Regions from separate parts of the Homo sapiens genome. Here all the other regions are linked to region 7. The links are contacts of gene promoters, found by promoter capture Hi-C in blood cells and fetal thymus (Javierre and others, 2016). All regions are on one chromosome and are shown on one strand. The core of a region is centred on a gene start or on the middle of the fragment in contact, and the rest is flanking DNA. Distances in the headings are between cores, read along the strand shown. Region 1 has its middle 130 kb from the start of TOP1. Region 2 has its middle 69 kb from the start of TOP1. Region 3 holds the start of EMILIN3 (elastin microfibril interfacer 3). Region 4 has its middle 9.4 kb from the start of LPIN3. Region 5 has its middle 94 kb from the start of TOP1. Region 6 overlaps LPIN3 (lipin 3). Region 7 holds the start of PLCG1 (phospholipase C gamma 1).

Region 1 (3,597 bases), core at 313-2,812, 240 kb after region 7:
AACAATGTCACTTCTAATCAGACCCAGGATAAAAACAGAAACTCCTTCACATGCTCTATAAGGCTTTGTGTGACCTGGCCCCTGCCTCCCTCACTAAGCCACTGTCCTCTCTTGTCAGTGTCTCCAGTGACCTCAGTTTGACTTTCTTTTAGTCCTTCAAATGTGTCCCGGTTGGTATTGCTGAAGTGTCAATTGTGAAGTGGGAGTGAAGTAGGCCCTCAGGTGCCTGCAGGCCAGGTGGTCCTGGGGGTTCAGGGAGCCCCTGAGGGTGTGGGTTGGGGGCAGTGGGTGGCTAGGATCTGCATTCACTCTCTGTGACTGCTTCTCTCTGCCCCTCCAGAACTGAGGTTGAATCGCATGCTCTGGGCAGCATCTCTCTTAACACAGGCAGATTAATTGAAAGCAGATGTCAAGCAGTGGGAGTTAAATACAGACATCTCACCAAATGTCAGCCTTTCCCCTGGGTCACGATGGAGTCCTTGTTTCTCATCCTCACCAGGGAATTGGGAAAAAGCCTCTTAGACACGCTGGTGGCATGGTTGACCCTGAGAGTCATTTTGCTCTTCTGAAAAGTGCTGGGCAAATTATGACTCTGAAATTGGAACCTAAGCGATGAATTTATTTGTATCAGATGCAGACAAACAAAAGGCTCTTTCAGAACAGCTGACTCTTACATGGGTGCCCAGGTGGTTGGGGAAGGACCACAGAACCCTCAGATCATAAGAACTGGAACGGATAGTCTTATCTTCTCACTTCAAAGTGGGTAAAACTGAGGCCCAGAAGATGGAAGGGATGCGTCTAGCGTCACTCTGCCGCTTAGTGTTAGAGCTGGGGATGGGACTCAAAGCCAGAAACTATTTTTTTTCTTTTATTTTTCTCTCTGTCACAGACAGGGCCTCACTAGCTCTCCTAGGCTGGACTTGAACACCTGGGCTCAAGTGATCCCGCCACCTTAGCATCCCAAGTAGTTGGGATTACAGGCACACACCATAGTGTGCAGGGTTTTAGAAATTATTTTCTAAAGTGTAAATCTGACGTCTCCCTCCATGCCACCCTGTTGCCTGGAGAATAAACCCGAACTTCTTGGCAGGGCTGGAGGTCCTTTATCTCCTCCCAATTATCTCAGCCTCATCTCCCCTAGGCTAAGGGACTTCCTTGGTTTCCTAAACATATCTTTCTGATATTTTTGCCCATGATATTTCCTCTATCTCATCACCTTAGTAGTAAACTATTCAACCTTCACAGCCCAACTCAGATGTCTGACTTTTCAGAAATCTTCTCAACTCCTTGGTAGAGTTACTTTGCCCCACTTCTGGGATCCTACAGAACAGAACATGTGTCATTGGAATTACTTGTAGATTTTCTGTCCTACCCTCCCTGCCCCCAAACTACTGCTTTATTTGACCGTCGCTTCCCTGGAGCTTGGACCCTGGAGCACACAGTAAGCACTTAAATATTTGTGACATTGGCATTGCCAAAGCCAAGGGACCTCTTTCTGTGCTTTTTAAATTAGGTTTTTCATAGCATCTGATGCCACCAAACTCTCTCTCCTTGAAATGCTCCCCTCTCTTAGCACCTATGATTCCTGGCTTTCTGGGCTTCCCTCCCACTTCTCTGACTGTTCTGCTGAGGTCTCCCTTTTGGACATCTGTTATAGGCTGTGGTTCTTCAGGGATGTGTCCTGGTTCTCTGCAGTCCTCTACTGGAAAGCCTTCTCTGTCTGGATTAGGTGTCACGGGACTCAGGACCTTAGCCTTTGCTGTTCTGTCTCTGGGACACTTTTCATTTCTTTTTCTTTTTGAGACAGGGTCTTCTCTGTTGCCCAGTCTGGAGCGCAGGCTTACTGCAGCCTTGACTTCCTGGACTCAAGTGATCCTCCCACCTCAGCGTCCCGAGTAGCTGGGACTACAGGTACACACCACCATGCCCAGCTAATTTGAAAGATTTTTTGTAGAGATGGGGGTCCCACTTTGTTGCCCAGGCTAGTCTCAAACTCCTGGCATCAAGTAATCCTTCTGCTGTGGCCTCCCAAAGTGCTGGGATTACAGGCATGAGCCACTGTGCCTGGCCTTTCCCGCTTCATTTCTAGCATGACCATCTTCTTTTCAACCTTCAGGTTTCAGCCCAAAGGTTGCCCTCTCAGAGAGTCCTTCCCCAACCACCTAAGTCACCAGCCTGGGGCTAAAATTGAGCAGCAGGAAGGACCTAGGCAGGGCAGAGCACAGGTATCTGGAGGTGCTGGCATCTTTAGTGCAAGTGCTAACATCTCGAAAATCCACAGCTGGGGGTTCCACTTCTGAATCCAGAGACAGGCAGGCCCCAGAGTTTTTGGGTTATTAACTCCCCTCAGTAGACTTCCAGTGAGTGTGATAAAACACTCAGCAGAATGCAGCAAGAGCTCATAAAAGCAGGATTTAGTGCCATTTTATAGATGTCAGGCCTGACGTCTATACTCAAGCTGGTATATATTTAAAATTCATGCCTGACTTACTGCCTTTGGGGAAAAAGCCTGAGGCCTGCAGGGAGAAGATGACAGGCTCCATGCTCACCTGCAAGCTCTAGCACACCTGGAGCGGACACCAGGGTGGGGGGCCTCCCAGCAGGAATCATGCTGAGCCAAGCTGAGCCTCACTCCACCTCCTTTCAGAAAGCAGCCCTCCTCATGGTCTGTGAGTACGAGCTTTGGAGCCAGACAGGCCTGTGTTTGAGTCCTGGCTGGGTGACTAGCTAGGTGACCTTGTTTGCCCAGGATGTGGGCTTTCAGTGCTAAAACCAGGCAAATGCTGGCATGCCAGGATGAGTTGATCGTCCTAAGCCCTGGCTCTACTCTTTCTTTGCTTTGTAAACTTGGATGGATCCTTTCCCCCTCTGAACCTCATTTCCCACAGCTGTCAAAAAGGAACAGTTAACCTATTTTGTTAGTCGGGTTAATCAGTGCAGCTGCTGTGACAAACAGTCCCCAAATCCCTGTGGTTTAACACAATATGTTATTTCTTGCTTCTGTGGCAGTATAATACGGGTTAGGCAACTTTATAGCAGTGACTCAGGGAACCAGGCCCTTTAATTCTGTGGCTCTGTCTTTCCATAGGGCCCCCTCAGGTTTCCCCACTGTATCCTGTGAAATAAGCCAGCCAGGTTTTAAGGCAGGGATCAGCAAACTACACTCATGAGCCAAATTGAATCTCCAGTTTATTTTTATAAATAAAGGTTTATTGGTACACAGTCACACCCACCTGTTTACATATTATCTATGGCTGCTTTCATATGACAGTGGTAGAGTTGACTAGTTGTGACAGAGGTCATACGGACTGCAAAGACTGAAATATTGCCCAACTAGTCCTTTACAGAAAATGTTTCCTGACCTCTAAGTCTGTGGTTAGGCCTGAGAGTGGTCAGGGAAGTGGACATCAATTCCATTGCAGTTCACAGGCTGCAACTCAGTCTAATGATCCCACACTAGTTGCAAGAGAGGGTGGGAAATGTAGAGGAGCACATGAATTTTGCACTACAGTCCCTGCCATACCTGCCTCTCAGGGTCACTATGCAATTATAATAAAATAATGTCTGGAAGCTGTTTTTTAGAGGATCTGGTACATA
Region 2 (3,521 bases), core at 992-3,491, 180 kb after region 7:
GAGATGCCATGCTCCAGATGGCAGGGGGAAGGCTGAGGGCTGAGAGGCTGCTGAGGGCTGGGGAGCCCTGTCTGGTCCAGCCTCTTCCAAGGTCTAGGGCTGTCCTGGGTGTCCTGATGCTTCTGCTGCTCCTGCCCAGAGATTAGAGCAGGGCCGAGCTGTGGCCCTGCCCTGGGGTGTTGAGCCCAGTTGAGGTGGCAATGGGTAGTTACTCAGGGGCTGGAGTTAGGACAGCTGGGCAGTGAGGGGTAGCTGCCCTGGGATCTGACCTAGCAGGCTGGCATTACCCCTGCTCAGTATCCATCACCTTCCCCATGTGTCCCAATGCTGGAAGCCTCATAGCAGGGTCACTTCGTGCTTCTTCCTGCTGGGTGTTTCCATACACAGTGTCACTGATACTGTAGCCATATCTGCCCTTCTGTTTCAGAGAAGAGGAAACCAGGACGAGACGTGACCCATCCAAGGTCCCGCAACAAGAAAGTGTCCACATCCAGTGGAGATTCACACTCAGCTCCGCCTGGCCCCACCCCTCCCCCTTTTCTTCCCCCTCCCCCTTCCCTGGCCCCCGCTCCTCCAGTACTTAATTTTAATGGCCTTTTGATTGCGAGCCTCTTCTTGAAGAGAGACAAATCATTATTGATGAATTTGGACTGCTCCAGTGTAAATGAGTCAACGGGGCCTGGCGTGGGTAGCTGGCCAAGCCATGCAGGCAGCAGGAATCTCAGGACCAGGCCCTGTGGGCCACAGAGAGCCCTGGTGTAGCCTCTTGTAAGCCGTTTATTTCCGTTCCCAATTAAACCAGGCGCTTGGCTGGAAGGGGTGTCCTTATCCTGGAGCTGGGGGGTGGGTGGCTTACAGAAGATCCTGGCCCCTAGGCCTGAGAACAGAGCCCCAGGATGGCCTGGGCTCCCCCTCTCCACCTGGCAGTCCCCTTTGGCCTGGGTAAATCGGAAATGAGGGCGGCCGCAGTGAGTCCCAGCCCTCACCCTCCATGCTCGGCTGTTTTCTTGGCAGCAAGACCTAGGGAGGCTCCCATGGCTGATTTTAGATTTGTTTTCAAAAACTGAAAGGAGAGAAATAATCCTAGCGAGAAAACAAAACAAAACAATAAAAAACAAACAAAACCTCTTCTAAAATGTTTCAGTCCTGAGCCTTGTCCCCACTCTGTGTGCACTTTCTGGTATTTGACCACCTTTGCCACCAGCCCCTGCTGCTGGGACCTTGAGCCAGCCCCAAAGCTCGTGAGTCCCTGTCCTCTGCCGTGGAATGGGGATTACATTATACACATCTCTGGGTTTGGGAGGTGATGGAAGGAGATGGGGGAAAGGGATGCATTTTGTAAATGAGGCCTTCTGATGATAATTTTATCATAGGCAGTAGACAAATACACTCACACGCCCCCAAATCACTAATGGGACCTCCCTCTGAAGGTGCTCCTTGCTTCTTGAGACGGGCATGATTACTCAGTAGATTCTGTGTAATTATTTAATCAAGCTCCAGCGAGTCCTCAAGTCCTCGGTGTGGAGCTGGGCTGCTGACCAGGCCCCAACCTCCCCTCCTCCTGCAGGGAGGCATAATCAGAGATGCTGAGAGGGAGGAGAAGCCCCAAGCACTTCTTTTCTTTGTGCAACAACTGGGTTGTGTGGGAGGGACAGCCGGGAGGGAGGGGGCCAGGTCACCTTGGGGCTCTCTTCAACAGTGGACGGGGCAGGAGGGGTCTTTAGAGACCTGTTTATGCTGTGCCTTTCTCTTTGAGGACACTGAGGATCAGAGAGGAAAAGCCAGCACGTCCCATGATTTCCCAACTGCAGACTTGGCTTCTGCCACTCATTCCCTCCCTCCCTCCCTCCCTTCCTCCCTTCTTTCTTTCCTTCCTTCCTTTCTTCCCTCTTTCCTTCCTTCCTTCCTTCTTTCCTTCCTTCCTTCCTTCCCTCCTCCTTCCTTCCTTCCCTCCTTCTTTCCTTCCTTCCTTCCCTCCTTCTTTCCTTCCTTCCTTCCTCTCTTCCTCCCTCCCTTCCTTCCTTCTCTCCTTCTCCTTCTTGACCCTCCTTTCCCATTGATTCCCTTCCCCTCCCCTTCCCTCCCTTTCCCTTCCCTCTCCTCCTTTCTCTCTTATAATGAAAGTACTGAACAGATGGCTGGGTGCAGTGGCACAGGCCTGTAATCCCAGCACTTTGGGAGGCTGAGGCTGGTGGGTCACCTGAGATCGGGAGTTTGAGACCAGCCTGGCCAACATGGCGAAACCTCATCTCTACTAGAAATACAAAAATTAGCTGGGCGTGGTGGTGGGCACCTGTAGTCTCAGCTACTTGGGAGGCTGAGGCAGGAGAATTCCTTGAACCCGGGAGGTGGAGGTTGTAGTGAACCGAGATGGCGCCACTGCACTCCAGCCTGAGCGACAGAGTGAGACTCCTTCTCAAAGAAAACAAACAAAGAACAAAAAAGTACTGAACAGATGCATGCATTCTCATGGTCAAACATGCAGATCATACAACAAAAGCAAAGGTCTCCCCAGATCCCTCTCTTCCCCCCCACCCAAATTCCCAATTCCCTCCTCAGAGACAACCCCAGCTCCCAGTTTGGAGACTCCCTTCAGACTTTCTGCTATGCATTCATACATTTACCTAAGTTCCTATAGAAGTTCTAGTTAGGTGTTTACTTTGGTTCATGTAAACATTCCTGACAATGCTGTCTAGACCAGTTCTCACTGTGGGGGGTGGGAAAGCGGGATGGGGAGGGAATTTTACTCCCCAGGAGACATTTGACACCATCTGAAGACATTTTTGATCATCATGGCTGGGGAGGGAGGTGCTCCTGGCATCTGGTGTGTAGAGTGCTAAAGGAGTGTTGCTAAACAGCCTGCCTTGCCCCGGACAGCCCCCAACACGAAGAATGATCCGGCCCAAAATGTCAGTAGTGCCAAGGTTGAGGAATCCTGGTCTGGAACGTTCTCAACTTGCTTTTTTCTAATAATAATAATGATTAATAATAATAATATATCTTGGAAATCTTTGCAGGTTAGGCAATATCTTTCTCTCATTCTGATGACTTCTGTGTCTTCTTTTGACTACATCACAGTCCATCCATCTCATCCCCTTTAGATTGATTTCAGGTTGTTTGTGACTTGGCGGTATTAATAGAAACATCCTTGTTATTCCCTGGTTTGGATGCTTGGGAGTGGGATTGCTATGTCAAAGGGGTAGTTATTGGTTGATTGATTTACTAAGTCCTCATATAGTGCTTCTATTTTAAATACAACAGGCACTTATTTATTATTGTTATTATTTTGAGATGGAGTCCTGTTCTGTTGCCCAGGCTGGAGCGCAGTGGCACAATCTTGGCTCACTGTAACCTCTGCCTCCCAGGTTCAAGCGATTATCCTGCCTCAGCCTCCCGAGTAGCTGGGATTATAGGCGCGCGCCAAGACGCCTGGCTAATTTTTTTGTATTTTTGGTAGAGACGGGTTTTCGCCATGTTGGTCAGGCTGGTCTCAAACTCCTGACCTCAGGTGGTCCGCCCGC
Region 3 (3,484 bases), core at 206-2,705, 230 kb before region 7:
TCCTTGACCAAAGAACGCCAGAGATTGCCAGGAACCACCAGTGGCTGGAAGAGGCAAGGAAGGCTTCTCCCCAGAGCCACTGGAGGGGGCATTGCCCTGCTGGCCCATGGATTTTGGAGTTAGCCTCCAGAAATGTGCAAGAATACATTTCTGTGTGTTAAGCCACTGAGTCTGTGGCTGTTACCACAGCCCTGAGAAACTCACACAACCTACACCTGGAAGCTGGATTCCTTCAGCTTCTGTGTTCTGATTCCAAAGCCTGGGGGAAAGCAGGATGGGCCTAGCTGGGGTCAGATGTCCGCCCCACAGAACCCAAAAGCCACTAAAGCTAAGGGCAGGAAATAGATGTGGGTTTCGGAGCTGCCCCTTCCAGTATCCTTGATAACCATCACCCTATCCAAAAGGCATTAATTCATATCTCAAGGTCAATTTGGAGGGAGGTCTCTCCAAGCAAGCCCCAGAGTTCTGTACACCTATCAGCTCCTGGGGCAAAGACACAGACGGCTGTAGCCACCGGTGTGGATGAGACAAGGCCAGGAAAGTACCGCTCTGATGACAGAATCAGAAGGACTCTGTGCAGGTTAGAGAGTTAGCAAGGTGATACTGAATGAGGACGACGATAAAACCCAACTCTTGGGTTCCAAGAGTCAACTTCACAAGCAAAATGTGGACGACGCCTGGCTTCACCGCGGCAGTGCCTTGTGAGAAAGACCTGAGGATTTTCTCTGACCAGCCGGCTTAGAGCTTCAGTTGCACGAAAAGCACAGCACTTTTGGCTGGGCTGGGGCGGTGATAGGCCTTTCGGGCTCGGTGCAACCCATACCTAAGACAGAGAGGCAACACAGGCGCCTCCAGAGAACCAGAGGTGCAACCGGGCCACCAGGCTACGTGGCAGAGGTTGCGGGGTAAGGGGGAGGTGGGATGCCTGGGGAGAGGTCAGCGGAGTTATCAAACTAAGGTTCCCGGGCAATGATGGGGCCAGGAGGCAGAGCGAGCAAACGGGGATGATCTGGGGTCTATTCCAAAGAGGTGGCGGGGGAGGTGGTGCTGCTGTGCCCCCAGTCACGGCCATCTCGGCTCCAGAGCCCTGGAGAGCAGTTCCCGGGTTCACACGGACTCTGAAGACAAGCGTATCCTGAGGGTGGACGACTCCTGGAAAGTCCACGCCCAGGCTGGCCTCAGGGGTCCGCTTCTCTGCGTCTCGCCCCGTGCCCGCAGGCGACAGAGTGGCTGGTGTGCTCGGGGGGCCTCCCAGGGCGCGGCGGCCTGCGCCCCTGCCACCTGGGGCTGCTCCCTTTGGAACCTCCTGTTCGCAGGCGGCTCCTCGGCCGTCCGCTCGGAGCTGGGGCGAGGGGCTGGCGGCGGCGAGCGGCGCGGCCCCAAGTTTATGCTAATCCGCAAAGAGCCCGCCTCCCGCCTCCCCTCCGCGGCCCCAGCCGCTAGCAGCGCCGGCCACTCCGCGGGACGCAGCCGCCGCGAAGCGCCAGGCGGCCGGGCCAGCGAGCTCGGGGGCCGAAGGGGACCCCGGGACCCTCGGGGCGGGACCCGGGCCGACCAGCGGCGGGGGCGGCGCGGCGCTGCAGGCGGACACCCGGCGGGGGGCACCGCGCGGGGCCGGGCAGAGGCGCGGGGGCCGCTATGGGCCGCCGCCGCCTGCTCGTCTGGCTGTGCGCCGTCGCGGCGCTGCTCTCGGGGGCGCAGGCCAGGGGCACCCCGCTCCTGGCGCGGCCTGCGCCGCCCGGTGCCTCCCGCTACAGTCTCTACACGACGGGATGGCGCCCGCGGCTGCGCCCGGGGCCGCACAAGTAAGCGCGGGCGGGCGGCGGGCGGGAAGAGGGAGGGATGGGCCCGCGCGCGTCGCCGCTCCCACCTGCCCGCACCCGCGGGGGGCGTCGAGGCCCCGGGCACCCCGAGGCCGCTGCACAGAGGGGGCGGCGCCCGGGGCCGAGCCCCTGCCCAGGCGAGCGCCCTACGCTCCGGGAGGTTGCGGGGCTGGCGAGGAAAAAGGAACCGAGGGGGCCTGGCGCGGCGGCTTGGGATCCTGGCAGTGCCAGCGGAAACCTTTCCAGCGAAGTAACATTTTCCAGCTGCGCTGTGTGCAGACTCCGGGCGAGCGGACCAGGTGGAGGGAGAGGAGGAAAGGCGGTCCGCGCGCTGAGCACGCGGGGCTCCCCCGCCCCGGGCCTCCCTTCTCTCCCCTGGCCCGGCCAGGTAGGAGATAGAGCTGCGCATCCGGGCGGCCGCTGCCCTCTCGCAGTCAGCCTGGCCCCAGCAACCCCATGGGAGCCCCAGCGTGGCCGGGCTGCAGAGCCAGAGCGGGCTCCTGGCTCCGGGCCTGTGCTGTGGCACAGCCGTCCACAGCGGTCGGCTTATGCCAGGCAGCCACCTCCTCAGCCCTTGTGGCTCATCAAGGAGCCTGCTTTCCCCGCCTCAGCTTCTGGTGTTTCGTGGGCAGTGGCTTGCGAACTGGCCTCAGTTAAGTGGGCTGGAGGCTCTGCCTGGGGTGCTGGCTGAACTTGAATTCTAGCTGAATTTGAGAGCTGTTGTAGGAGGAAGAGTACCGACACTCAGTGGGCCTGGGTACATCACAGCGAGCCTCCTGGAGGAGGTGGTACAAGAACTGCTCTGAGAGTAAGGGAACAGGACCAAAGGCAGGGGCTGCAAAACTACGAGGAGAGGTGGATTTCCCCGGGAGCCAGGCAGGGAGGAAGGACAAGACATGGTGCTCTCAAAGGAGTCACTGAGTGGGGACTCGGAAGCCTTAAATGCCAAGATAAGGAGTTTGGAATCAGCGAAGGATGGGGGGGTGTGGCAGGGCACTTGAGGGAGAATCCGGGCTGGCCTCTTCCCCACGCAGGGAGGGGCAGCCACATCAGGCTCCTGGTTCCAAATAGTGCTTAGCCCAGGGGCCACCCATCACGGAGGCTGGAATCAGAGACCAGCAGCGGGGCTGGACCCCAGACCAAGGGCGTTGGCTCCCAGGGACACAGAGAACAGACAGAAGAGACATGGGAGTTTGGAGTCCTGCTGAGGCCCACAGATGGAGGTGGGAGGGTAGGCGCCTCTGTGGGCCTCGCTCAGCCAGATATTCCAGGGGTGCCATTTTCTCCTGTAGGGCCCTCTGTGCCTATGTGGTGCACAGGAATGTGACCTGCATCCTACAGGAGGGAGCGGAGAGCTACGTAAAGGCTGAATACCGGCAGTGTAGATGGGGGCCCAAGTGCCCCGGGACAGTCACGTAAGTGCACTCCTCACCTACACACTTGGAATCCCCTGGCACAAGCGCCAGTCCTGCCTTCAGCTGAGAGCAGCTGCCAACTCCACAAGGGGCTTCTTGGACTCCAGAGAGCCCACCTGAGCCCCCATACAGGCCAGAGTAGAAGGCGGCCCCAGAAAAGAGGGTGCCAAGGAGGACCCCAGGGATTTGGGCTTGCAGCAGAGCATCACCCGCACAGACAGGGGCAGGCTTGGGTTGGAGCCCAGG
Region 4 (3,991 bases), core at 742-3,241, 190 kb before region 7:
TTACAAGCGTGTGCCACATGCCTGGCTAATTTTTTGTGTTTTTAGTGGAGACAGGGTTTCACCATGTTGGCCAGGCTGGTCTCAAACTCCTGGCCTCATGTGATCCACCCGCCCCAGCCTCCCAAAGTGCTGGGATTACAGATGTGAGCCACTGCACCTGGCCTTAATCCTAAAATTAATAATTTCAGGATTAAAATGTACACAGGCACCATGATAATAACATTTAAGGATCGACTTTCCTCTGTGCAGTGAGAAACAGACCCCCAAGACCAGTGTGAAAGTAATGAAAAATTAATTTTAACATGAAAAATTTTCATCCAGTTTTAGAAAAATACTTAGAAAACAACCTGACCTTCTAAAACATGAAATTTATTTGGGGTTTTTCTATGATTATAACGAACTAGGCATAATTGTGTCTTAGAATTGAGTAGAGTCTTAGAATTGAGTAGAAAAATAACGTACTAATTCTCTTGATAAATTTTAAAATACTAATTCTGTTAAAATCTTGATTGTGAAAGAACCTAGACAACTCGCACTGAAAAAAATACCAACACAGATAATATACACATTAATCACATACATATACAGTCACACAAAGAATCTAAACTGGTGATTTTAACAAGCTAGGCAAAATACCATATATACTTGAATATAAGATAATGCCAAGCCATGAGCATAAAATTGAGGCAGTCACTTTATTTTGTTTTGTTTTGTTTTGTTTGAGATGGAGTCTTGCTCTGTAGCCCAGGCTAGATAGAGTGCAGTAGAGCAATCTCGGCTCACCGCAAGCTCCACCTCCCAGGTTCACTCCATTCTCCTGCCCCAGCCTCCCGAGTAGCTGGGACTACAGGCGCCCACCACCAAGCCCGGCTAATTTTTTGTATTTTTAGTAGAGACGGAGTTTCACCGTGTTAGCCAGGATGGTCTCAATCTCCTGACTTCGTGATCTGCCCGCCTCGACCTCCCAAAGTGCTGGGACTACAGGCGTGAGCCACCGCGCCCAGCAATGACTTTATTTTGAACAAGAAAGTGGCATAAGCAACTCAGAATGTGTCGCCTAACATAAGAGCTCTTCCCTCTATGTGTATAATTCCCCACCTCAGTGTATAATTTTGGGAGAAAAAAAGTGTCTTCTATCTGGTTATCTACCATTGCACCTTGTTACAAGGCAGGCACAATATCATGTCCAGATAGAACATCTAAGGAGATACATTTTGGGAGATGAAACTCTCATTTGGACTAAAGATGAGTGCATGTACTAACACAGGGCTACTGAACCACTAGTCTTGATTGCATTAGACAAAACGAAGGTGACTTGTCTTCATTTCCACAGTTGCTTCCATGTAAAAATCAGTTTTATTGCTCCTTTCATTAAAAAATATTCTGAGCCAGGCACGGTGGCTCATGCCTGTAATCCCAAAACTTTGAGAGGCTGAGTCAGGCAGATCACTTGAGGCCAGGTGTTTGAGACCAGCCTGGCCAACATGTTGAAACCCTGTTTCTATTAGCCGGGTGTGATGATGTGCACCTGTATACAAGCTACTCAGGAGGCTGAGGCATGAGAACCACTTGAGCCTGGGAGGTGGAGATTGCAGCGAGCTGGAATCATGCCACTGCACTCCAGCCTGGGCAGCAGAGTGAGACTCTGTCTCAAAAAATAAAAATAAGATAAAAAACATTCTGATCAAATAATCTTGCAAAGGAAAGACAAGTTTACCGTATAAAAGCAAAGAGAAAAATGATTTTGTGCTCAGTTACGTTTAGGACCTTCACAAAGTACATGTTCTCAGGGAGCCCTGCTATGCTGTCTGTGCCAGAAATTTCATGTATTGTCCCTGGACATTGAAATGGTCAGCTGGCCCATTGTATGCTGTCCACACTGGGTCTCCCTGAATGGCCATATGGCCTTCACGTACTTCTTTTCATCCAGAGTGAGGTGGTGACGAATTCCTGTGGGGAGAGTTATGTCTCCTTTCTCCATGAAGATGTAGATTCACTTGTCTTCTTTATCTGTCATATCAAAAGTATCCACTGCCACCCGGGATGTAACAGATCCGATCATCCAAGTGTAAATGCTCCCCATAAAACACCTTAATCTTTTCTTCATAATTTGGTAATTTATCTTTACATATGGTTATTATGTCTATCCAGGAGTAGCTTCTCTCTCTTTGAGTCTTTTCTAATTCTGGATCATTCTCTCATTTGTCAGTGTCCAGCTTTAGTAGTGCACCCTGAGCCAGCATGGCTGTTTCTGGCCCACTGGGTGGCCAGGGGCTCGGGGTGGTGGGGCTGCCTCCAGCAGTCTGGGAACTCATCCATGTACTAGGCCTGCACCATGGCTGCAGATGCTAACAGGCAGAGTGGGGCTAGAGAGGGGAGGCTGCATGGAAGGGCTGCCACTGGGAGTGAGGGGCTGTTGTGATTAGAACTCAAGGCTCTCAGGAGCTGGACAAAAGGTAGAAACTGTTGTTATAGATGAGGAAAAGGAAACCAATTATTGAGTACACTTAAAAGTATACTTGGTCAGATGCAGTGGTTCATGTCTTTAATCCCAACACTTTGGGAGGCTGAGATGGGAGGATCGCTTGAGCCCAGGATTTCAAGGTTGCAGAGCTGTGATTACACCACTGCACACCAGCCTGAGTGACAGCGTAAGACTCTCTCTTTAAAAAAAAAAAAAAAAAAAAAAAGCACACTGGCTGTTTCCTCTGCCCAGAAGTTTCTTTCCCTAGATGCCTACCTGGCTGGCTCCCTCACTAACCTCAAGACCACACCAATGTCCATGAAGTCTACCCTGACCATGCCCAGACACCTCTCTGTGCTCTAATCTTTTCCAGTAGCCCTAACAACTTCCTTGAGTGCTAATTCACTTCTTGAGGATGTCTGGTATGTGTGTGTCTCCCTCCAAAAGAATGCAGGCCCCGTGAGGACAAGACATCTGATCTGTCTTCACTGACAGTTCCTAAGAACAGTCTGGGGCCGGGCACGGTGGCTCACGCCTGTAATCCCAACAGTTTGGGAGGCCAACACGGGTGGATCACTTGAGGCTAGGAGTTCAAGACCAGCCAGGCCAAGATGGTGAAACCCTGTCTGTACCAAAAATATAAAAATTAGCCAAGTGTGGTGGTGCATGCCTCTAATCCCAGCTCATGGGGAGGCTGAGGCAGGAGAATTGCTTGAACTGGAGGTGGAGGTTGCAGTGTGCCGAGATGGTGCTACTGCACTCCAGTGAATGAGACTCCGTCTCAAAGAAACAAACAAAAAGCATCTGGCACATAGTAGGTCTCTGATAAAGATTAGTGAGTGAATGTCCACATCTTTAAAGGTTTTGCCTGTACCTTGAAGTCTCTGTTCCTTGGGGCTGCCTCTTTGCCCAGTACTCTTGACCCTGTCCCAGGTGATATGACCTGTTGCCCAGTGTCTGCCTGATCAGTAGGGTCTTCCTAGAGTGCCAGCGTTTTGACCTCCATGTGTCCCCACTAAATTGCCAGCATGTGTGAAATACTAAATTCCAGCTGTTTTTGTTTTTGCAGGGCAAGAGGGTTAAAGAAGGAGTAGGAAGAGGGGGAGCTGATGAGAGGAGCAATGGTCAGAGTGGAGGGGGTGGAGAGAGAATACAGTCACAGATTTCCCCACCCCATCAACTTTCCAAGCAGCTCAGAGCGGCAGCAGAGCCGCGAGTGAGGGCTGCGCACCACATATCCGGAGCTGTGTGCCACGTGGCAGAAGCTGTCCCGTTGAGTCATGGGATGTACTGCTGCACTGCTCTAGAGTTTGGTGTGTAGAGTATTTTTGGTTTTTACAGTCCAGCTCTCTGTGTAATGACTTCCTTCCCGTGGCCTTGTTCATCGAGGTGTCCCTGAACGACTAGCTGAGTCACAACATTCCTTGCAGCTTAAAACACTGACCCAAGGCAGTTTCTCCATGTAGTTAGGGACTTAGAAGGCTGCCAGGGAGTGCCTAGGGAAGACAGTCTGTAGTGCTCCTGTCT
Region 5 (3,987 bases), core at 999-3,498, 200 kb after region 7:
TGGGTATACCGCTTCTTGTTGATTCTTTCACCTGTTGATGGCATTTGTATTTTTTCCAGCTTTTGGCTATTACAACCAATGTTGCTGTGGAAATATGTGTACAAGTCTTTGTGGGGGACAGAATACTTCATTTTATCTCATTGTGATTTTAATTTGCATTTCCCTAAGGAGTGATGATGTCGAACCTTGTTTTCATGTGGTTATTTGCCATCCCAATATCTTCTTTGGGGAAGTGTCTATTCACAATTTTTGCCTATTTTAAAAAATATTGGGCTGTTTTGCTTATTATTGAGTTTTGATAGTTTTGTATATTTGGAATATAAATTCTTTATCATATATGTCATTTACAAACACTTTTTCCCATCCTATGGCTTTCCTTTTCATTCTCTTAACAGTGTCTTCTTTGAAAGAATAATAGTTCTTAATTTTAATGAGGTCCAACTTATCACTTGTTTTTCTTATTCGATGTCATATACAAGAAATCTTTGCCTCACTCAAACTTACAAGGATTTTCTCCTATATTTCTTCTGAAGAGTTATAGTTTTAGGCTTTACATTAGGTCTATGCTCTTTTATTTTTGGTTAACAGCTTCATTGAGATAAAATTTATGTACCATACATTTATGTACCATACAGTTCACCCATTTAAAGCATACCATTTAGTGGTTTTTGGTATATTCATGCAGTTGTACAATCATCACTCTCTAATTCCAGAACATTCTCATCGCCCCCGATGAAATGCCATCACAAGCAATAGACACTGGGGACCACTCGAGTAGAGAGGAGATGTGGCCTGAAAAACTACCTATTGGTTCTCTACCTCTCACTTTCTGGGTGATGGGATCATCCATATCCCAAACCTCAGCATCATGCAATATACCCATGTAACAAACCTGAACATGTACCAAATTTGAATCCAAAATAAAAGCTGAAAAAACTGTATATACAGATATATTTTATTAAAGTAATTTGGCTAGAACTGGGAGGATGGAAACTGATGTTTATTAAAGCTTTACTATGAGATAATAAAAAATACAAAGAAACTCCCTTCCCATTAGCAAGCACTTCCCATTCCCCTCTTCTTCCAACCCCTGGAAGACATTAATCTACTTTGTATCTCTATAGATTTAACCATTCTTGATATTTCATAGAAATGGAGTCATACAACATGTCATCCTTTGTGACTGGCTTCTTTCACTTAGCATGATGTTTTAAAGTTTCACCCACGTGGTAGCATGTGTCAATACTTCATTATTTTTTACTGCTGAATATTAAATTCAGGAATATTGTATGGATAAATCACATTTTGTTTATCCATTCATCAATTGGTTGGCATTTTGGTTGTTTCAATTTTTTTTGGCTATTAGGAATAATTGCTGCTACAGACATTTGCATATAAGTTTTGTGAGAACTTTTTTTTTTCCTTTTGTGTATATACCAAGGAATAGAATTGCTGGGTCACATGGTAACTCAATGTTTAACTTTTTGAGGAACTGCCAAACTGCTTTCCAAAGCAGCTTCACCAGTAATGTATGAGGGTCCCAATTTCTGCACATCCTGACCAACACTTGTTATTGTTCATCTTTTCGATGATAGCTATCCTGATGAGTGTGAAATGGTATCTTGTTGTGGTTTTGATTTACATTTCCCTAATGACTAATGATGTTGAGCATGCTTTCATGGGCTTCTTGGGTATTTGTATATCTTCTTTGAAGAATATCTATTCAAATCTTTTGCCTATTTTTAAATTGGGTTGTTTGTCTTTCTATTATTGAGTTGTAAGAATTATTGATATATTCTGGACATTAGAACCTTATGAGATGCATGATTTGCAAATATTTTCTTTCATTCTGTAGAGAAGTCTTTTTGCTTTCACTCTAATTCTTCTCATTTTCTTGATAGTGTTTTCTGAAGTAGAAATTTAAACAATATCAATGAAGTCAACTTTATGCTCAACTTTGAGTTATTTATTTATTTATATATTTGGGGGATGGAATCTTGCTCTGTCACCCAGTCTGGAGAGCAGTGGCGTGATCTTGGCTCACTGCAACCTCCACCTCCAGGGTTCAAGTGATTCTCGTGTCTCAGCGTCTCCAGTAGTTGGGATTATAGGCGTGTGCCATCATGCCTGGCGAAATTTTGTATTTTTTTTTTTTTTTTTTTTTTTTAGTAGAGATGGGATTTCATCACATTGGTCAGGCTGGCGTTGAACTCCTGACCTCAGGTGATCCGCCTACCTCGGCCTCCCAAAGTGCTGGGATTACAGGTGTGGGCCACCAAGCCTGGGCTTGAATTAATTTTTAATTATGGTACAAACTATGGATTGATTTTTCTCTCTTTTCTGCCTTCTTTCTCCATCTAATTGACTTGGCACGTTTTTCAAAAGTCAACTGACATGTGTATGTAGGCCTATTTTTGGAAAAAGTCCTGTTACCTTTACCTTCAAAGTACCTTTCAGATTTTTTCCCTTTTCTCTCTCTCTCTTTTATAGAGACAGGGTCTTGCTATGTTGGCCAGGTTGGTCTTGAAATCCTGGCCTCAATAAATCCTCCCATCTTGGCCTCCCAAAATGTTGGGATTACAGGTGTGAGCCACCACACCCTGCCTTTGTCCCCTTTTCTCTATCTCTACAGTACCCTGCCAATCCTGGGCCAACACCTGCCACTTTGGTGGCTGCAGCAGCCTCCTCCCTGGATCCCTTTCCCCACTCTTGTCTTACCCCTAATCCATTGTTCACTCAGCAGTGGAAGGAATTTTTATCAGGTGCTGGTATGCTCAACACCCTTCATTAGCTTCCCACTGCCCTTAGATAAAATGCAAACTTTATGTCATGCTATATGTCTGCATGGTCCTTTACTCAACTTCCTTTCTGATCTCATCATCTGCTACCACATTCTCCCTTGCTCCCTGGCCTCCTTGCTCCCTGTCCTTTTTTGAATTTTTGGAATGCATCCTGCTCCTTCTTACCTCAGGGCCTTTGCACATGCTATTCCCTCTGCCTGTGAAGCTCTTCTCCCCACTTTTGCATTCTTGTGTATCTATGAGTTACTCATATTTCTGTTTCAATATTTCTTTTTCAGCGAAACTGACTCATCTCTTATCCTCCATCTAAATTCAGTCTTTCTCTATTGCCTACCTTCCTGTCTCATTATCTCTAATCATGCTCCACATTGTTAAGCTACTGCTGTGTAACAACAGCAAAAATAGCACAGCATCTCAGTGACATTCAATAGTAAGTATTTATTTCATTCATGGGTTGGTGGCTCAGCTCTCATCCACTTCTTGTTCATCTCCTGGGATCAGCAGGCTAGGCAGGGTATGTTCTCATGGCTATGGCTAAAGTGTAAGAGGGTAAGCCTCCTTGTACAAGCTCATGTAAGATTCTTGCTTATGTCGTGACTACTCACATCTCATGGGCCAAAACAATGCCCAAATTTGCCAAAGTCCATGGATGGGAGGGATTGCAATGTTATATTGAAAAAGCTTGATACATAGAGGGGTGGAGAATTGGAGCCAGTCATTCAACCTACCCCATATCCTTTGCACAGTCACATTAAATAATGAATAACATATTTCTTATTTGATTATTTAATTGTTTATCTCCCTGCTCCATGAGAGCAGGGCATTGCCTACCCTGTTTACTTCTTTATGCCTCAGTGTACTGTACTGAGTGTATGCACTGTACCTGGAATATATTAGATTATCAATATTGAAGTAATTGGTTGGATAAATAAAGGAATGAATGAGGCCGGGCATGGTAGTGCATGCCTGTAATCCCAGCACTTTGGGAGGCCAAGATGGGTGGATTGCTTTAGCTCAGGGGTTCGAGACCAGCTGGGCAAAATGGTGAAACCCCATCTCTACAAAAAACACAATATTAGCCAGACCTGGTGGTGCATGCCTGTAGTCCTAGCTACTCAGGAGGCTGAGGTGGGAGGGTCATTTGAACCCAGGACATTGAGGCTGAAGTGATTCTTAAGCATGCCAT
Region 6 (3,584 bases), core at 112-2,611, 210 kb before region 7:
ACAGAGGTAGAGGGAGTGCTGGGTCCTCCCCGAGGAGGAGAGGTTGCCCCAGCTCTGCCTTCAAGGACCACTGAGGACTCGGGCCGCTCAGCTCTGGCCACCTTTAGTGGAACAAATGGAGGAAGATGTGGGCCAGGGTAAGGCCCATGCCCCACAAAGCTTTTGGGGCAGTGGCCCGAGTTTCAGTCCCTCCAACCCTGACCCATGGGGGCCACAGAGCCCCTGAAAGGCCGGGCCTGGGGTTGATACAGAGGGACTCACCTTAGGCAGCCTCCCCCAGGCCCACTGCATGTGGGACTCGGCTCTTAGGGGACTGGGCTCCGGGGTCCGCACCTCCAGCTCCGAGTCGCTCTTAGGGGATGTTAGCTCACCTGCTGAGAGGCTGCAGGAGACATATTGAGAGGCCTTGAGCCTGCCTACCCATCCCCGCTGCTGCCCACCCCAGCCAGGGAAAAAAATATGTGCAACCTATATTTATGCCTGTGTTGAATCCATAATATATAAGGAATATGTAAAGATCTAAAGAGTATACAAATATATGAATAACTTATACTAATCAACAAGAAGAAGACAATCCAGTAAGAAGAAGGATGGGAGGGAGGAAGGAAGGAAGGAAGGGAAGGAAGGAAAAAAAAAGAAGATGGCAAAGTTGTAGCTGGATTGCCTAATGGGCATAGGGTTTCCATTTGGGGGATGGGATGTTCTGGAACTAGATAGTGGTGATGGTCATTCAACACTGAATGTACTTAATGCCACTGAACTGTATACACTTTGAAATAGTTAAAATGGTAAATTTATGTTATGTATATTTTACCGCAATTTAAAAAAATCAATAAAAGACTTGAACTCTTTACAAAGGAAAAATACGAATGGCTAGTAAACACATTAAATGGGTCCTGTGTCATTAGTCATCAGGAAAAATGCAAATGGAAACCTCAGACCTTGATCTGGAGTCCTGGCCTGCAGCCCACCTGGACTCTTACCTGGCCTGGGGGGGCCACTCGCCATCCGAGTAGGGGTAGATGTCTTTGGGCTGCAGTGAAGACTTCTCTTCCAACTGGACACTGCTAAGGGGCCACAAGGAAATGGTCACTGATCAGGCAGGATGCCCCAGGCAGGCATGAGAGCCTGGACATCAGGGGCTTGGTAAGGTGAAGCAACTACTGCTCAGAGAGGTCAAGGCCCTTGCCCAAAGTCACACAGCATGAGCAGAGGAAACAGCACTTGAACCCCCAAACTGGGGTTCAAGTCCCTTGGTCCTTACACACCCTGGGGGCTCTGGCCTCAGCTTTTCCGGCAGGGATAGCTCACTCTCAGCGCCTGCCTCCAGTTCCTCTGGACTAGAATCAGTTGCCACTGCATCCTCTTTCTGCTTGGGTTTCCTCCTGCGACGCCTCTTCCTCCGCCCAGTGGAGGCCGTGCCTGCCATGACGAGGCCCTCAGGCTCACTGGCAGTGCCCAGCTGGGAGTCCGAGGGGAAGCCAGACAGACCCCCCCAAGGGATGGGTGAGGTGCACAGGCCGGGAGGCACATGTTCCTGTGGAACAGACCAAGAACTGAGGTCGGGGGCTGACCCTAGTGGGGCTGCGCTCACCACACAGTCATCTTGAGCCTTGCCTGGGTCCCAGCCCTGGAGTGAGCTCATTTAGGGTCAGGAAAACAGGTGTGGAGGCACCAGCCTGGCCCTGTAGCCACTGCTGGCCTCAGAGGTCCCCAACAGAGCCACCTGCCACCCTGGCAGGCCAGGCAGAGATCTTGGCATCGGCCTCTGATCTCCTCTTCTACCCAAGTCTATGACAGCAGACATCTACTTCTGCTTTAAGATTCAGCCATATGTCTCCTCCTCCAGGAAGGAGCCTTGACTATCCCTCTCCCAATCCCAACATCCCTCACTGCAATGACCAAACGGCTCATCATCCATTGTTTATGTGTCTAGCTCCCAGAACAGCCTGGAACTTTCTTTGAAGGCAGGGGTCACCCGTCATCTGAGTCTGTTGCACAGTGTCTGGCCTACAGTAGGGACTCAAAGTTTTTCAAGTTCTGTTTCAACTCCTCTGCTGGCTTCTGCTGGGCCCTGCCTCCCCTGTGCGAACACCCACCACTTACACACTTCTAGGTTCCAGCCACACGGAGCTGGCACCAGACCCAGGACAAGCCAGATGTTATACTTCCCAGCCCCTTTCTTCAGCTCCCGCCTCCTCTTCAAGCTGCCTGGGGAAGGCCTCCTTTTCATCCCACAGGGGCCCAGCTCAGGGGTCCAGTCTTCTGAGAAACCTTCCCCAACTTCCCAGTAAATAGAGTCAGTTGGTACCCTGGCCTCTTCCTCTGGGCCCCCACAGCATATCACGTGTGCCAGAGGCCAGCCCCAACTGATACCCCTGCCTCAGACCTCTGCTGGTGGGGTGCTCCCGGGGAAGGGCGAGGATGGTGACAAATCCCAAGGCTCTGCCCAGAAGAGGCACAGGAAAGGGGTGGGCGGGGCAGGTGCTGTTAGGAGGGCAGACTCACATCATCGCTCTCCAGCTCCTGAACAAAGAAGGCCTCCCCGCTGTCCCCAAGCTTCATGTGCAAGTCCACAGGCTCCCCATTGAGCTCAATGTCTACCTGCAAATGGAAAGCGGTGGCAGGGACATGGGCCTTCACGCCCATGCTTCCGACCACAGGCCTCCTGGCTGGTCCTCCAGTGGCTCCTTGCCGCCCCAAACACCATACTTGCTGGGGTTCCCTCCCTCCGGACCTCAAGTGCCTGGCTGCTCCCCACGAAGGGGGGCTCTGCTGCATCTCCCCTTCCTCAGAGAGGCCTTCACTGAGCTCCCTACCCATCTCTCCCTCACTCACACTGCCCCACTGTCTGAGCCTCATTGTACTTGTCACTGTCTCGGTCTTCTTGTGTATTGCCTGGTTTCCAAGTTCTTCCCTCTGTCTCTCACATCCATAAGAATAGGGACGTGGTCTCTCTTGTGATCGCTGTGTCCCCAGCCCCCAGGTTATTGGCTGCATAAACAATGGTGGGAATTTTAGTGTACTGGCCCTTTGTGGAGTGTTTTCTATAGATTATCTCATTTAATCTCTGCAACCCCTTGCAGTAGCTCCTATCATTACCTCCACTTTACAGATGAGGAAACTGAGGCTTTGGGGGTTTGAGTAATTGGTTAGGAGGCAGCCTCACAGCAAGTGAGCTTATGAAGCCAAAAAGGCTGAGTCTACAACCCAAGCTACTAGCCTCTTAGATATACTATTTCCCATAGGCTACACTTTTCTATTAGGATCCTGGAAACGTCACAGTTGCCTCAGTGTGAATCTTGATTCACACCCTAGACCTTGCTGCTAACAAAAATCTCTGCTGTGCTTGCCTGAGCCCTGTGAAGGTGGAATGGATTTATTTATTTATTTTTATTTATTTATTTATTTTTTGAGACGGAGTTTCGCTCTTGTCGCCCAGGCTAGAGTGCAATGGCACAATCTTGGCTCACTGCAATCTCTGCCTCCTGGATTCAAGCGATTCTCCTGCCTCAGCCTCCGGAGTGGCTGGGATTACAGGTGCCCACCACCACACCCGGCTAATTTTTCTATTTTTGGTAGAG
Region 7 (3,789 bases), core at 1-2,500:
CCCACTAGAGACCAGCGCAAAAGCAGCCAAGCTCAGGCCTGGGAAGGCGAAAAGGCAGGAAACTAAGAGAAGCCGCTCCCGCTCCCTGAAGCCACCGGACAGAGGACAAAGGGCTAGACTCACAAACTAGCTGCACTCCTGAGAAGAATACCTGACTCCAAGGCGCTGGGGCAGGCCTTTATGGGGCCCATCTCCTGGGAACGTGCTTCCCAGGGCAAGGGGAGTCCCTGCCCTGGCATTGAGTGTCTGCCCACCCACATAGGCCTCCAAAACCCAGCTTTGGGACAAAAGTAGCAGAAAAAAAAAAAAAAAAATTCCAGCCACTGGCTTCTCTCAGGCTTCTCCAAACCAAACAAGACCACCTTCCTCCCTCTCCCCCAGAGGGAGATGAGTAGGCCCAGCTCTGCTCCAAGACCAGCCCTACCCAACATCTGCCTAAGTTCTACTTAGGGAACCCAAAGATTCCTTTGCAAATAAGAGCCCAGCCTGGGGGCCCGGAGAGTTTCACAGACTGCTCTTTCTGGATAAAGAGTGGGCGGGGACCGTCTGGTCAGGCCCCAGGTTCCCGTGCAGGGTGGGGGCCACTGCCTTAGCTCCCCTCGCCGACGCCGCCACCACTCCCAGGGTCTGGGGGGCCCGATGCCTGCACCGCAGGTCTCCAGCCCGCGAGGATTTTTAGGCCTCAGGGCAAAGCGCCTGGAACACTCCCCCCAGCTGGGGGAGGGGGGGTGTCCTGTCAGGTGACCGAGGACCCGGATGCCCCCCGCCCCCAGTGACCACCCGAGACGAAGCGGGGGCGGGGCCCGGAGGGAGTCTGGGAGGGCCCGAAAGTTTGCCCAAGTCGCTGGGGCGGCCGGCCGGGGTGCAAGCAGTCGGGCCGGGCTCCCACGACCCCCGCGCGGGGCGGGCCCAGGCAGGAAGTGGGCGCACTTACTGGCCCCCTCGATCTTGTCGGCGCCCCGGCTCCACGTGATCTGGCGCGTCTCCAGCTTGACCTGGAAGGTCTTCCGCTCGGGTCGCTGCGACTTCTTGGAGTAGAACAAAGTCATGACGGTGCCCACCTCGAGGCTGCGGCAGAGGTGCAGCACCTCGGCGTCCGAGGGCGCGCCGGGCCCGCAGCCGTTGGCGCAAGGGGACGCGGCGCCCGCCATGGCTCCGACGCTGGGGGCGGCGGCGGCACAGGCCAGGACCGCCCGGGAGCAAGCGCAACGGCGGCGGCTGAGGTTGGGGCTGAGGCTGAGGCGGCAGACGAGCGGGACCCGGCGGCGGCTCCTGCAGGCGGACACGGGGCGGGGCCTCAGCGCGGCGGGGCGGGGCTGCCCTGAGGCCCCACCCCGCTTCGGCGCCGGGAACAAAGGCGCCCGCGCACCCGTGGGGAGGACCCCCGCCCGTCGGCCCGCCGCGCCTGCGCCCCGCGACCCCCAGACAGGCCGCAGGCGGGGACGGAGGCGCGATGGCGGCGGGAGCGCGCGCCGTTCCCGGTCGACCCACCCAGCCCTCAGTCCCGCAGAGCTTTCTCACGCGGCCCCGGACACAGCCCGGCGGCCACGAGCGGCCCTGTCACGCACGGCAGCCCCGCCCACAGGCCGCAGGCCCGGCGGCCGGCGCGTCAGTCAGGCGTACTCGCACGGGCGGCCGCTACCCCGCGGTCCCGCACAGACGCAGCCCCCGCGTCCCGAACACCGCCCATGCAGCGACCGGGACGGGACGTGAGGGGATGGCGCGTCCTCCGGGAATGCCCGGCCAAACTCAGTTACCTGGGCGGGCTTCCCGGACAAGGGAGCCAGGACGGGCCGCCTCACACCGGCGGCGGCGGGTCCTCCGCGCGCCCTCTCCCGGGAGGGGCGGGGGCGGGGCTGCCTGCGGATTGGTCGCGGGCACTGATGGACAGCCGACATGTCCCGCCCCCCCGGCAGCGCGGGGCTGGTCCGCAGGCAGTTCTGGCGACGGCCAGACCCACGTCTGTCTGTTCCGCCCCTGCTGCCAGGGTGGCTTTCAGTGGTCCTCTCTTTCGGAGAGTTCCCCCCAAGCGTGAGCACCCCTTACAGGGGCGTTAGGTCCGCGGCCGCGCTGTCCAGTGGTCTGACCTGCAGCTCCCAGGGCCTTTGTGTCTGTCCCTCGCATGGGCCTCTGCACGCTCCGTCCCCACGCGACAGGACTCGAGTCCGATTCGGGGCTCCGACTCAGACCCTACCCCGCAGCGCCCTCCTGCAAATGCTCTCCTGAACTTTGGTTTTCCCCGCCTTGCTTTCTTCCTCCTCCTGTAGCCGCTGCCTCTCGATCTCAGAAGCTTCTCTTCCTCTGCACTCAGTGCTAGGCCAGATCCCAAGGCGACCTGACCTTTCCCCTGGCTTTGCCCAACAACACAGGCACCGGTGACTCCAAACCTGCATCTCCCCTACGTTCCAGGCCCCAGCATCCCACTGCATGTTCCACATCCCCCCCCCTTAGACAGCTCGCCTTCCCTCCCCAAACGATTCCTTCCACAGTCTTCACTTTCTCAGAACGCGGCGCTAAACTTCTCTAAGTTGGAAGGTCAAAAACCTTGCAGCTAACTTTGATTCCTCCCTTTGCCTCACCTCCAATCCATCAAGACCTTGTCACTCAGCCCACAAGCTGAAGGCCCCATCTCCTGTCACCCAGACTACTCACCTTGTTTGGTTTTGCCTGGATCTATCAGTTTGGTTTTGCCTGGATTTATCATGCTTTAAATCTTTAAAATGAAATTAAATCATGATCCCCTACATCCAGGCTAAAACCCTCCGTGAATTCCCATTGCACCTAAAATCCACACTCCCTGCTTGGCCTAGCAGGTTCTATATGACCTGCCCATCTCACCAGTTTCATCTCTCACAAGTGATCCTTCACTCTCCATTCTCCAGCCACAAGGCCTTTTTCTGGTTATGGAATATAATTCATACTCTTTGTCTTTCTGAAGCCATTCTTGAAACTCACCCCTGCAATCTATCTACCCTTGTCAGCACCGCCAAAATTGAGGACACCCACGGTCGCGGTGGAGCCTGTCTGACATGTTGAGCCAGGCAGTGGGTCGGCTGCCAGGCACAGCAGGACAACTTACTGCATTTCAGAGGTGAGAAGCCCAACAGAGCTTCCAGCTGATGCCAGAGAAAGAGCCAGGCTTCCTGGGAATTGTGAGATAGTAGGACTAGACTAGAGTTTGTAAGAGCGTGTGCTCAGGCAACCCACTCAGCTGGATAGTGACCTGGGGCTGCTGCTTCTGACTTTGTCTTGCTGTAGTGGAAACTTGTGTGTTAACGTTGATTTCCTCAAGTGCGTCCCCTAAGAAGCTCAGAATTCAGCATGACATTGAGACCCTTTGTCCTAGCCAGCCTCTGTGGAGTAAGGAGCGGTGGGGTAGCTGAGATGGACTGCCACCTAGTGGCAGGTCTTTACGTGGGCGGGACGGAGCTAGCGTAGACCCTGTGCTGAAGGTGTGCACCTGTGGTCACACCTGATCCTCATAATTATCTTCTAATCAGGAATGATGGTCCACAATTTACTGATGAGGAAACAGAGATTCAGAGAAGTTCTACAATTTGCCCCAAAGCCACATAACATGACTAGGTGGGAACTAGAACCCAAGTCGGCCTGACTCCATGAGTTTTCTGCCTCACAGGAGATCCACTGGCTTAGGTAAGTCCTGGTGGTCAGTAGTCAGTGGGCATGGAGGCTATCTGGTTAATCAGCATGGGTGAGGGGAGGCATGCTCACCGCTGGCCTTGGGCACAGGGAATCCAGCAGAACGTGAGTGCTCACAGAGTGTGGCTT

Evidence for each region. Contacts are between HindIII fragments. The CHiCAGO score rates a contact against its expected background, and 5 or more counts as called.
Region 1: a fragment that was not itself captured here is called in contact with the fragment with the promoter of PLCG1 in region 7 in 1 of 17 cell types (fetal thymus); the score reaches 5.2 in fetal thymus.
Region 2: a fragment that was not itself captured here is called in contact with the fragment with the promoter of PLCG1 in region 7 in 5 of 17 cell types (activated CD4 T cells, fetal thymus, total CD4 T cells and 2 more); the score reaches 12.2 in activated CD4 T cells.
Region 3: the fragment with the promoter of EMILIN3 here is called in contact with the fragment with the promoter of PLCG1 in region 7 in 7 of 17 cell types (non-activated CD4 T cells, activated CD4 T cells, naive CD4 T cells and 4 more); the score reaches 5.9 in non-activated CD4 T cells.
Region 4: a contact is called between a fragment that was not itself captured here and the fragment with the promoter of PLCG1 in region 7, in 12 of 17 cell types (naive CD4 T cells, total CD4 T cells, activated CD4 T cells and 9 more). The highest score is 26.6, in naive CD4 T cells.
Region 5: a contact is called between a fragment that was not itself captured here and the fragment with the promoter of PLCG1 in region 7, in 1 of 17 cell types (fetal thymus). The highest score is 5.5, in fetal thymus.
Region 6: a fragment that was not itself captured here is called in contact with the fragment with the promoter of PLCG1 in region 7 in 8 of 17 cell types (naive CD4 T cells, non-activated CD4 T cells, total CD4 T cells and 5 more); the score reaches 11.4 in naive CD4 T cells.

The regions. Positions count from the first base shown.
Region 1 is chr20:40,894,177-40,897,773 of GRCh38, reverse strand. No RefSeq gene overlaps it. Among named protein-coding and RNA genes, the nearest start is that of TOP1, 130 kb to the left of the region's middle. RefSeq lists a silencer at 182-355. The HindIII fragment of the contact is 4,981 bases long and covers 1-3,597 here.
Region 2 is chr20:40,958,004-40,961,524 of GRCh38, reverse strand. No RefSeq gene overlaps it. Among named protein-coding and RNA genes, the nearest start is that of TOP1, 69 kb to the left of the region's middle. RefSeq lists an enhancer at 1-589. The HindIII fragment of the contact is 7,671 bases long and covers 1-3,521 here.
Region 3 is chr20:41,364,789-41,368,272 of GRCh38, reverse strand. EMILIN3 (elastin microfibril interfacer 3) reads left to right here and starts at 1,455. Exons shown (of 4, transcript NM_052846.2): 1 at 1,455-1,805; 2 at 3,116-3,238. The coding sequence starts at 1,639. RefSeq lists an enhancer at 2,217-2,718. The HindIII fragment of the contact is 20,041 bases long and covers 1-3,484 here.
Region 4 is chr20:41,329,469-41,333,459 of GRCh38, reverse strand. It overlaps the pseudogene ADI1P1. Among named protein-coding and RNA genes, the nearest start is that of LPIN3, 9.4 kb to the left of the region's middle. RefSeq lists an enhancer at 3,566-3,615. The HindIII fragment of the contact is 6,350 bases long and covers 1-3,991 here.
Region 5 is chr20:40,933,107-40,937,093 of GRCh38, reverse strand. No RefSeq gene overlaps it. Among named protein-coding and RNA genes, the nearest start is that of TOP1, 94 kb to the left of the region's middle. The HindIII fragment of the contact is 2,473 bases long and covers 1,012-3,484 here.
Region 6 is chr20:41,346,572-41,350,155 of GRCh38, reverse strand. It overlaps LPIN3 (lipin 3), which reads right to left. Exons shown (of 20, transcript NM_022896.3): 3 at 2,509-2,604; 4 at 1,269-1,537; 5 at 984-1,064; 6 at 262-382; 7 at 1-101. Among named protein-coding and RNA genes, the nearest start is that of LPIN3, 7.5 kb to the right of the region's middle. RefSeq lists an enhancer at 2,598-3,121. The HindIII fragment of the contact is 2,400 bases long and covers 162-2,561 here.
Region 7 is chr20:41,135,004-41,138,792 of GRCh38, reverse strand. PLCG1 (phospholipase C gamma 1) reads right to left here and starts at 1,250. Exons shown (of 32, transcript NM_002660.3): 1 at 935-1,250. The coding sequence starts at 1,151. LOC124904903 (translation initiation factor IF-2-like) reads left to right here and starts at 1,280. Exons shown (of 2, transcript XM_047440629.1): 1 at 1,280-3,091; 2 at 3,501-3,789. The coding sequence starts at 1,454. The coding sequence ends at 2,035. It overlaps PLCG1-AS1 (PLCG1 antisense RNA 1), which reads left to right and starts at 793. Exons shown (of 7, transcript NR_109889.1): 1 at 793-1,079; 2 at 2,982-3,091; 3 at 3,501-3,654. RefSeq lists enhancers at 133-212, 361-460, 382-1,166, 1,951-2,735 and silencers at 611-870, 991-1,980. The HindIII fragment of the contact is 8,103 bases long and covers 1-2,292 here.